Linked DNA regions of Homo sapiens: regions 1 and 3 are each linked to region 2. The links are contacts of gene promoters, found by promoter capture Hi-C in blood cells and fetal thymus (Javierre and others, 2016). All regions are on one chromosome and are shown on one strand. Each heading gives the region's core, a stretch centred on a gene start or on the middle of the fragment in contact. The rest is flanking DNA. Distances are from core to core; before and after follow the strand shown. Region 1 has its middle 160 kb from the start of LINC00588. Region 2 holds the start of CYP7A1 (cytochrome P450 family 7 subfamily A member 1). Region 3 has its middle 120 kb from the start of LINC00588.

The links. Contacts are between HindIII fragments. The CHiCAGO score rates a contact against its expected background, and 5 or more counts as called.
Region 1: a contact is called between a fragment that was not itself captured here and the fragment with the promoter of CYP7A1 in region 2, in 3 of 17 cell types (total B cells, naive CD8 T cells and fetal thymus). The highest score is 6.8, in total B cells.
Region 3: a contact is called between a fragment that was not itself captured here and the fragment with the promoter of CYP7A1 in region 2, in 2 of 17 cell types (total B cells and total CD8 T cells). The highest score is 5.9, in total B cells.

What each region holds. Positions count from the first base shown.
Region 1 is chr8:57,439,712-57,443,399 of GRCh38, reverse strand. No RefSeq gene overlaps it. Among named protein-coding and RNA genes, the nearest start is that of LINC00588, 160 kb to the right of the region's middle. RefSeq lists an enhancer at 317-818. The HindIII fragment of the contact is 941 bases long and covers 1,917-2,857 here.
Region 2 is chr8:58,498,002-58,501,594 of GRCh38, reverse strand. It overlaps CYP7A1 (cytochrome P450 family 7 subfamily A member 1), which reads left to right and starts at 1,432. Exons shown (of 6, transcript NM_000780.4): 1 at 1,432-1,576; 2 at 3,126-3,366. The coding sequence starts at 1,497. RefSeq lists an enhancer at 1,001-1,222, a promoter at 1-1,456 and a silencer at 1,554-3,140. The HindIII fragment of the contact is 6,882 bases long and covers 1,066-3,593 here.
Region 3 is chr8:57,401,431-57,404,635 of GRCh38, reverse strand. No RefSeq gene overlaps it. Among named protein-coding and RNA genes, the nearest start is that of LINC00588, 120 kb to the right of the region's middle. The HindIII fragment of the contact is 2,027 bases long and covers 730-2,756 here.

The DNA of each region.
Region 1 (3,688 bases), core at 1,138-3,637, 1.1 Mb after region 2:
AAAGTAGACATTATCCCATTTTAGAGATGAAGGAACTGAGACTTAGAGAAATCGAACAATTTACCTGGAGTCTCCCATTAGTAAACTGACAATTTAGGATTCAAATATATACCTATTTGATTCAGAATTAATATGTTGGCTGGGCACGGTAACTCATGCCTGTAATTCCAGCACTCTGGCAACATAGGGAGACTCCTTCTCTAAAAAAACTGAAAAACTTAGCTATGCATGATGGTGCATGCCCATAGTCCCAGTTACTTGGGAGGCTAAGGTGGGAGAATCCTTTGAGCCTGGGAGTTATAGGTTACAGTGAGTTAGGATAGTGCCACTGTACTGCGTGACAGAGTGAGACCCTGTCTCAAAAATATATATATATATTTTTTTCATGTTGAATACCTTTGGCTTATGAACAGCTTCAAAACAAAATCTAATCCTCAAAAATGGTTGATTTAATTAATCAGTTCCCTAGAGATTTAGGGCTTAGGACTCCCCTCTAAAGTAGGTGGTAATTTCAAAGCAATGGAGTCAGGCCATCTGGTATAGGTTTATCTTCAGCTGCTCCTAGGAACACCATGACAATAAAGCACACCTCACTGGCCCGGCAGGTGGGACCCTTGCTGTTTATTCATATTATGATGGCTCCTGGGTTGTTTACTACTATCGTTGGTGGGCACTTGGCTGTGTAGGGTCAACTCTGGGCAGTAAAACAAAAATACCTCTCCCTAATCCTGCCTTTAAGTAGCTCAGTGATTCCTGTAGAATCGTAGTTGCAGCCCCTCACAGGGGCTTATAGCACAAAGGTTGAATCACTCTAGTGAACCCTCAAAGACAATTGATATTTTAAGCAATTATACAATAATATAATTTTATTACTGGATAAAAATTTAGAGGTTATCTAGTTCAATCCTTCGTTAGAGAAAAAAAAAAATAGAGGCTCAGCTGCTTCCTAAAGGTTCTACAAGGATCTGGCAAACCAAACTCAGGCGCATCTTGATCCAAGTCAGGCGCTCTTCCCTCCATGCCATGCGCCACTTCTTGATGATGTAACCAGCATGGGACAAGTCCCCAGTGACCACACATCTTACAATTTGTTACCTTGGGTTTATCAGGTAGAGCAGTATAGAAAGCTCTCTGGATTCTCAAGCTTTGACAACACAACTAATAAAAGGCACAGTGATAGTATCGCATAAGAGTTTTTACATAATTTGAAAATTCCTTTACATGCACTATGTTTACTAATAATAATTCTTTACATGTTTATAACATTTTATAGTTTGTGAAATACTTTTAAATGTATCATCTCATGACTATTAAATGTATTAAGTAACTAGGAATTATATCCCCATTTTATAGATGAGGAAACTGAAGTTCAAACCCCTCGCCACACAGTAAGTGACAAAGGTGGGGCCAGAGCCTAAAGGTCTGACTCCTAATCCAGTCCTCTTTTCTCACAAAATCTAATAAGAGGATTCAGAATAGCAAACTTTGATAGGTTCATGTCAAAGACACAGAGCTCTAATTTAGGGATTTTATCCAAGATTATATACATAATCTACAGCAGTTGGTCCAAGACCTAAATATTTCAAAGATATTCTTTTATTTACAACACAGGACTTCCCCACCCTTTGTTAATCCTGTGAACAATATGTTATTTATATATACTAAAAACATACTGGTCTCTCCAAGTTTGACAGCTCTCACTCTGCTAGGCGGTGCAACTGGAAAATCTAATATCTCAAAGGCGTTTCATACTCCTGCCAAATTCAAATTGCATGTGTCTGTCTATTTTTCCACCCCTTGTGCAATGGGTTTGAATCTTTCTTGAAGGTGCCTCTTCAAAAGCAGAAGTAATAGACATTCTTTCTCTTCTGAGCCTTATGATGAAATAATTACTTGGTGGTTAGCAAACAAAAGCTTTCCTGCCAATTTTGAATTACTCCAAGAAAAGAGTCAGAGGAAATTTCAAGTTGCAGCTCAGAATCTGACCCTCAAAATCTTATCTGAATAATAAAAGACTCTGGTTAAAGAAGAACATTCTATTTTCTTATAAAAGTGGACAGCGTATCTTCTATAGAGCATATGATTTTCTCTTTAATAAGGGTCTGGAGAGAGAAAATTTCTAATATTTACCTTTAGGAGATCATCACATAATTGAGGGTGGAATGACTAAATTCAATGTCAGAACGTTTTGCTGTTATTTAACTAGATGATAGTAATTTGTTTTACTATCTGTGAGTATATCAGAAATGTTTATTGTTGTAAGTTCCCAAAATTCATTTATATCTTTTGAATTTTAAAGGACTCAAAGCAGAATTCATTATTCCCAATGCAATTATGAAAGAAATACATAGATATTGTATAAAACGTGGAAATACAGAAAGACAAAAAAATAAAAACACCCCTGAAAGGCATCTGATATATTATAAGGATGCAGTTGAAAAAAGGTTGGATAAACAATCTTTCCTTTTAATTACATACTTTTTGGGGCTAGTATTTTTTTGTGGGCCAGCTACATTATGGAAGTAATTCTAACCTCCCAAATCTGAGTTGTATAGCATTTGCCATCCAGTATCTCAAGATACCTCAGCACCCCCGTTGCATAATATGTAGTTTTATCTCAAGGGTCAAGTTATGTTTATGGTCCCTATGTAAAATGTAGTTTTTAGACTAATTTCATACATGCTTATACACATATATTTCATATATATATGGGTGGGGCTTATAATCATGCAGTGTGCAGATTTTAATCAATTACCCCCAGCTTCCTCAGTGAGTTTCGTCTCAAAGTCTGGAGCCCCTGTCAACTGGGTGGATAGGAGCAAGTGGGGACTTGAGGACCTATCTGTTTATTCAAGCTTCCCAATGAGCGCTACTTCAGCAGAACCCCCTCCCGAACCACTTCCTGCTGTTCCTCACTAAAGATTAGATATGTGTGTATATATATTTATATATTAATATATAAATATATAATTTCATATATTTTCTATATTAATATACAAATATATAATTACATATATATTTATATATTCATATATTCATGCATATTGATATATATGATATATCAATATATAGGTATATTTTGATATATCAATAGGTATATTTTAATATATCTATTGATATATTTGATGTATCAATTTGATATATCAATTGATATATTTTGATATATTTGATGTATCAATTTGATATTATCAATCGATATATTTTGATATATTTGGTATATCAATATATAGATATATTTCATACATAGATATATAAATATATAATTTCATACATATTCATATATATTTCATATATATTCATATCCCAATGAGGATCACTTCAGCAGAACCCCCTCCCCAACCACTTCCTGCTGTTCCTCACAAGAGATTAGATGTATGTGTATATATCTATATATTGATATATAAATATATAATTTCATATATATTCATATATATTTTTATATAGTCATATAGAAAGATATATTTTTATATATATTTATATTTTATATTTATATAGATATACTAATATATACTTACATATAGATGTATAAATATATAATTTTTTATATATTCATATATAAATATATATGAATATATACAAATAGTGTATATTATTTACATATATAATTAAAGTATTATTTCATATATAATTATATATTATATATTTTATATGTTATATATAATTAATAATATATACTATTTCATATATA
Region 2 (3,593 bases), core at 183-2,682:
TCAATAGGAAATCAGTTAAATAAATTATAGTACATTTATCCAATGGAAGATTAAGCACATATTCAATATAATTATTTATACACACATATAGATACACACATGTATAAATATAGAGAATACTGTGGGTGTATGTGTGTGTGTGTTTATATACATATATATACACACACAGTACTGTTGCCTACCTTCTTTTGTCTTAATTCTGTGAACTCTCATTCACTCTGCTTCAGTAGGATACATCCTTCTTTTTGGTTCTTAGACTCACCAAGTTGATCCTTGACTCAAGACATTGCATTTGCTGCTTCCTCTTCCTGGAATATCCTTCCTTCTGATATTCACATGAGTAGTCTCTTCTTGTCATTCAGATCTCAAATGTCACAATTTCAGAGAGCCCATCTCTGATCATCATATCTAAAGTTGTCCTCATTCCCCCATAGCTTTCTATACCATGTTTTATTTTTTTCATAACATGTATTTTATTACTCCTTTCTCCATTGGAATAGAATCTCCATTAGATTAGGAAATCTGCCTATCTTATTAATGCCTGCAACTGGAATACTTTTGAAGAGTTCTTGGCACGTAATAAATACTCAACTAATATTTTTGTGTACACAGAAATAAAGTTTGGAAGAACAGATGCCAAATTGTTACTAGTGGTTACTTCTGAGTAAAGGAGTAGCATGGTAGGTAAATTATTAATAGATGTTCACTTTCCACCAAGATATGTTTTAGTTAGTCTTAACTTACTTGAAATGAAATTTATTACTTTAATAATTAGAAACATTGATAAACATTTTAGTCACAAGAATGATAGATAAAATTTTGATGCTTCCAATAAGTTATATTTATCTAGAGGATGCACTTATGTAGAATACTCTCTTGAGGATGTTAGGTGAGTAACATGTTACTATATGTAGTAAAATATCTATGATTTTATAAAAGCACTGAAACATGAAGCAGCAGAAATGTTTTTCCCAGTTCTCTTTCCTCTGAACTTGATCACCGTCTCTCTGGCAAAGCACCTAAATTAATTCTTCTTTAAAAGTTAACAAGACCAAATTATAAGCTTGATGAATAACTCATTCTTATCTTTCTTTAAATGATTATAGTTTATGTATTTATTAGCTATGCCCATCTTAAACAGGTTTATTTGTTCTTTTTACACATACCAAACTCTTAATATTAGCTGTTGTCCCCAGGTCCGAATGTTAAGTCAACATATATTTGAGAGACCTTCAACTTATCAAGTATTGCAGGTCTCTGATTGCTTTGGAACCACTTCTGATACCTGTGGACTTAGTTCAAGGCCAGTTACTACCACTTTTTTTTTTCTAATAGAATGAACAAATGGCTAATTGTTTGCTTTGTCAACCAAGCTCAAGTTAATGGATCTGGATACTATGTATATAAAAAGCCTAGCTTGAGTCTCTTTTCAGTGGCATCCTTCCCTTTCTAATCAGAGATTTTCTTCCTCAGAGATTTTGGCCTAGATTTGCAAAATGATGACCACATCTTTGATTTGGGGGATTGCTATAGCAGCATGCTGTTGTCTATGGCTTATTCTTGGAATTAGGAGAAGGTAAGTAATGTTTTATCTTTAAATTGCTCTTTGATTCATCCATTTAATTTTTTTACCTTCATTTTTATACAGTAAATTTGGTTTTCTATACTTACACATATTAGCATTATCTTCCTTATTTTTTAAATGAAAAATTTGATTTGAATTTTTAAAGTAATATCTTTTTTACTATATCTCACAAGACATATGACAGCTTCCCTTTTTAGTATTGGCATATACCGATGGTAATATATAAATGTATATTGGTGTTAAACATAACTGACAGAAATTGTATAAGGTCTCTATGTACATTTATATGTGTATCTAAAGAGGAAGCCCAGATTAGTAAGGATACAAGTAGCAAGTGGGAATCTACAATGGAAAGGATTGCTTTCTCTCACATGGCTTCAATAGATACTCTTGTTAAATAAATGTTCTCTTTTAAGCTCATTCTTGTGCATCGCATAGACTCAGCCTAAGCCTGAACAAGAGCATAGAGCCTGAGCTGATCATTCTATTACTGTTTTTAAATAAATGTTAATCAACTGTGGTGAATTGGGAAAGTTTGCTGAGTGTATGTGACATCGATTTCATTTATTTACAACTGGTTCAAGAATGCAAGAAAAACAAATACAGTCAGATCCAGAACCATAGTTTATTTAACTTCTAATTGGCTCAAGGAGTAATTGTGGGGAGGCATATAGATATTCTCTGCTATGTCAATCTCAAAAAGAGAAAATAACCCTAACCATCTTTCAGCTTTGTAGATTGCTATGTGTTTTCTGCCTTTTGCAGTTTCTTTCAGGCCTGATAGTTTTTACTTTTAATTAAACTACTTATCTTCAAACTAAGAAAAGAAAGGTAATTACTTTATACTGTATTATTCTATCAAGAGGTACAGAAGTTTATGTTGGAAAATAAGTTTACATGTTCTAATAAAAACATTTTAAAGGAGCACTGAATTACAATAGATGATTCCGTCAGTGTTTATCTTACTCAATTTCATTTTATAATAAGCTGATTTCTCACATGAGATTCTTCTTCTCTGAAACCATCCTTATAGAATATAATATAGATATCTTTAAACTAGGAATATTTTCAAAACCTCAGTTCTGAAATCCTCCCTTATTCAGTGATCTGTGTCTTTAAAGAAAATAATCAAAAGAAACATTTTGAGATATTTAGAAAAATGATGCTTAGCAAAGTGATAAACACTAGAATGTAGTTTTGTTTCCGCACTGACAACAAGAATCTTGTTGGTCTTGTAAATCCTTTTGCCTGTATCACTGGGAAAAGTGATGAGCACATAGTAGACGGGTGCTTGTTGAATGTGTATATGGACGGATGCATGAATGGATGGATTTAGTAATCCTTTCCACCAACATATCATGTTACTAGGTTAATATAACCTATTACTGTAGTAAAAGAGCAGGGCCCATCCAACAAAAGAAATATCTATAAACTATAGGGTTTCAAAGTTTGAAGTCAGTGGGAAAAATTTTAAAACCTGATGTAAGTAAAAACCCAAAACTGTAATCATCCATGTCTATCATACACTTGTGTCTGACAGGCAAACGGGTGAACCACCTCTAGAGAATGGATTAATTCCATACCTGGGCTGTGCTCTGCAATTTGGTGCCAATCCTCTTGAGTTCCTCAGAGCAAATCAAAGGAAACATGGTCATGTTTTTACCTGCAAACTAATGGGAAAATATGTCCATTTCATCACAAATCCCTTGTCATACCATAAGGTGTTGTGCCACGGAAAATATTTTGATTGGAAAAAATTTCACTTTGCTACTTCTGCGAAGGTAAGCAGTTTTACATTTATATACCATTCTGTTTGTCTTCTACCTTTTTATGTGCTTGTCTATTTAGAAATTTTGATGTACTTAGATTTTATGATAAAGGTGTTGAAGAGAGTTATCCTTATGTGGAGATTCTTAGAAACATAAATAAATTATACGTAGCTTCTTAGTAATAATCATTTAGAAAGTCAAAATAGGTATAGATTTGTCATTTGTTGACGAGCTAATGA
Region 3 (3,205 bases), core at 494-2,993, 1.1 Mb after region 2:
GCTTGTGTTTAAATGTTTTAAAATACTTATCATTCTAGGTGTGAGGATAAACATGTATCATTATAATAGCATATTCTGAAGATAACTGATACTGGGAAGAATAAAGAATACAACAGGGATAAATTTTTATAGAAAAGAGTAAAAAAGATTGACTGGAGCTTTTTCTCAAAGATAAAAATATACCTTATGTTTATAATTGTGATGACAATCTGCTTCTTAGGATGAACAAAGAAGGAACTAAGTGTTGATTGCTTTTATTGGCATTATTACCCCATAACTACCGACCATATTCTTCACTTGCCATTTGCCTTACAAAAAATGATCTTAAAAAGAGGTGATATGGTTTGGCTCTGTGTACCCACCCAAATCCCATCTCAAATTGTAAACCCCACGTGTTGAGGAAGGAACCTGGTGGGAAGGGATTCGATCATGGGGGCAGTCTCCCCCATACTGTTCTCATGATAGTGAGTGAGTTCTCATGAGATCTGATCTTTTAAAAGTGTTTGGCAGTTCCTCACTAGCTGTCTCTCTCTCTCCTGCCACCATGTAAGACGTGCCTTGCTTCCCCTTCACCTCCTGCCATGATTGTACATTTCCTGAGGCCTGCAACCATGTGGAACTGTGACTCAATTAAACCTCTTCTCTTTATAAATTAGTCTCAGGTAGTTCTTTATAGCAGTGCAAAAATAGACTAATACAAGAGGCAAGTCTGCCAAAACATTCCAAGCTTCATGAATTTTCCCCATGGTTTATCTTAATCCTTTGTTTTTCAAACCCTTCTCTTGTCAAGCAGCATTCTTCTGCTCTTGTTCAGTCATTTGCCCATCTTCATTGGGTATCAGCCAATTCTCCAGAATCACTTTATCAGCTTCATAAAGAACCCACATCTTCTGAAAAAGTTTATAATACCACTGCACCAGCAATTTACATGTGTTTGCATTATATTTTCATATATAATTACAGTTTGTGAGATATTGGTGAAGATGTAGCTAGAGTTATCAAGGATAGATGCCCATATTAAGTGGAATGACATATGAATGGGGACTGGTTTTTCAAGTGGTCAGTTCTTTAGTCCTTTAATAAATATTTTCTGATATAACTAAAAAACATTTCTTGGTACAGTCTTTAAAAAACTGTGGTGCATGGAAACAATAGATGCTGCAGACTACTAGAAGGGGAAGAGAAGGGGATGTGGCCTTAAAAACTACACATTGGGTACTGTGCTCACTACCTGGGTGCAACATAGCCATGTAACAAATCTGCACATGTTCGTCCTGTATCTAAAATAAAAGTTGGCATTTGAAAAATTAATTAATTTAAACAAAAACTGGCACAACTTGAATAATGATCGCTCAGATAATGAGGCCACTCTATGCTAGATGATATGTTGTTCTAGTGGATTAATAGTGAAATGGACACCTGCCATCTTTGCAGGCAGAAAAAATAGGCTTAAAATCCCACCCACCCGTGGTGGCTATTCTTTGCCTACAACACCTCTCCTACCCTCCTGTGGTAAGAGACTCGCACCCCTGATTATAGGGGTTGGTATGTTACTGTCCTGGTTCAGTCATTATGCCCTTATCCTTTGAAGTCGGTTATTGGCTCATCCTTCTCCCGTAAGTGAAAGCTCCATTTCTACAGGAGCCATTTCTCGGCTGGCCTGTTGACCAGTAGTTGTCTATCCAGACTGAGTTCAGCCCCAGCTGCCTGAAACCTGAGCTGGTAGTCACAGCTTCAAAAGTTATTTAGTAATATCTCCTCTGCCTTGTGAACCAAAAATTATCTGAGACAAGTCTCAATCAATTTAGAAAGTTTTATTTTGCCAAGGTTAAAGACACACCCATGACACAGCCTCAGAAGGTCCTGACAAAATATGTCCAAGGTGTTCCAGGTACAGCTTGCTTTTATGCGTTTTACTGAGACATAATACATCAATTGGTACATGTAAGATTTATATTGATTCGATCCGGAAGGGCAGGGCAACTCAAAATGGGTTGGGGGGCTTCTAGGTCATGGGTAGATTTTAAAATATTCTGATTGGCAATTGGTTAAAAGAGTTATTATCAGTAGAAAAGAATGTCTGGGTTAAGATAAGGGGTTGTGGAGACTGAGGGTTTATAATGCAGATGAAGCCTCCTGGGAGCAGTCTTCAGAGAGAATAAATGATAAATGTTTCTTATCAAACTTAAGGTCTGTGTTGATCTTAATGCTGAAGGAGTATAATGAGGCATGTCCAACCTCCTCTTTCATCATTGTCTGAACTAGGTTTTCAAGTTAACTCTGAAATATCTTTGGTTGAAAGGAGGGATCCATTCACATGGCTGGGGAGCTGTAGAATCTTATTTTTGGCTTACACTCTTAAGGGTTGGCTATCTATGAGTTTCATCTTATTACTCAGCTTTATCTACTGCTTGGCAGGCATAGCAATTGTAGCTATTTGACATCTTGATGACTATCTCTGTCCTGTGCTTTTATCAAAAGAGAATGAACTGTGGCCTTCCCAAGGAAAAGGAAATGGGTATGTGTCTCAAAGATGGAAACTAGAGGCTCAAATACTCCAGCTCCCTTTCACTGGATGTTAAAGGGAAAAAGCAAAAACATTGGTCTTGTTGGTGCCCAGAAAATGATACCCTAAGTAGAGGCCTCAGAAGCAGCCTCAAAAGCAAAGTCTCTGACCTTCTCCTGCCCTCCCTTCCCTCATCTCTCATTCTCCCCTGAGGCAAGCCATAGAAAATGGAATCCCTCTTCCCAAAGCTTGGTAATAAAAAGCAGAACGCCATTCCCCCAAAGCCAGCCATAAAGCCCAAAAATATTACTCTAATCCCCACCTCCTTGCCCTTCTGTGTGATAGCTGGCCATAAAGAAATTAAGACCCTTATTCCAGAAAGGTCCTGCCCCATACCAGAGAGGAAGGAATGCTTCACAGAAAGGCCAAGAAGAATCTGAACAGACAGGCCTTTCTGGGTTTCCCCCCTCAGCCTATTAGCATTAGACCCTAGGCTTTTTGTCCAATCACCTTTCCACAGGCCTCTCTATACTTTATTGAACTTAAACATAAAAATAGATCAGTTCCCCTGTATCTTTTGGCCACTCATCCTGAAGGCTCCCATGTCACATAAAACTATAATCAAATAAACTTGTGCTTCTCTCTTGTTAACTCATTCTTGTTATAGGGGTGTTGGGCATGACCCTTATGATGGGGAGG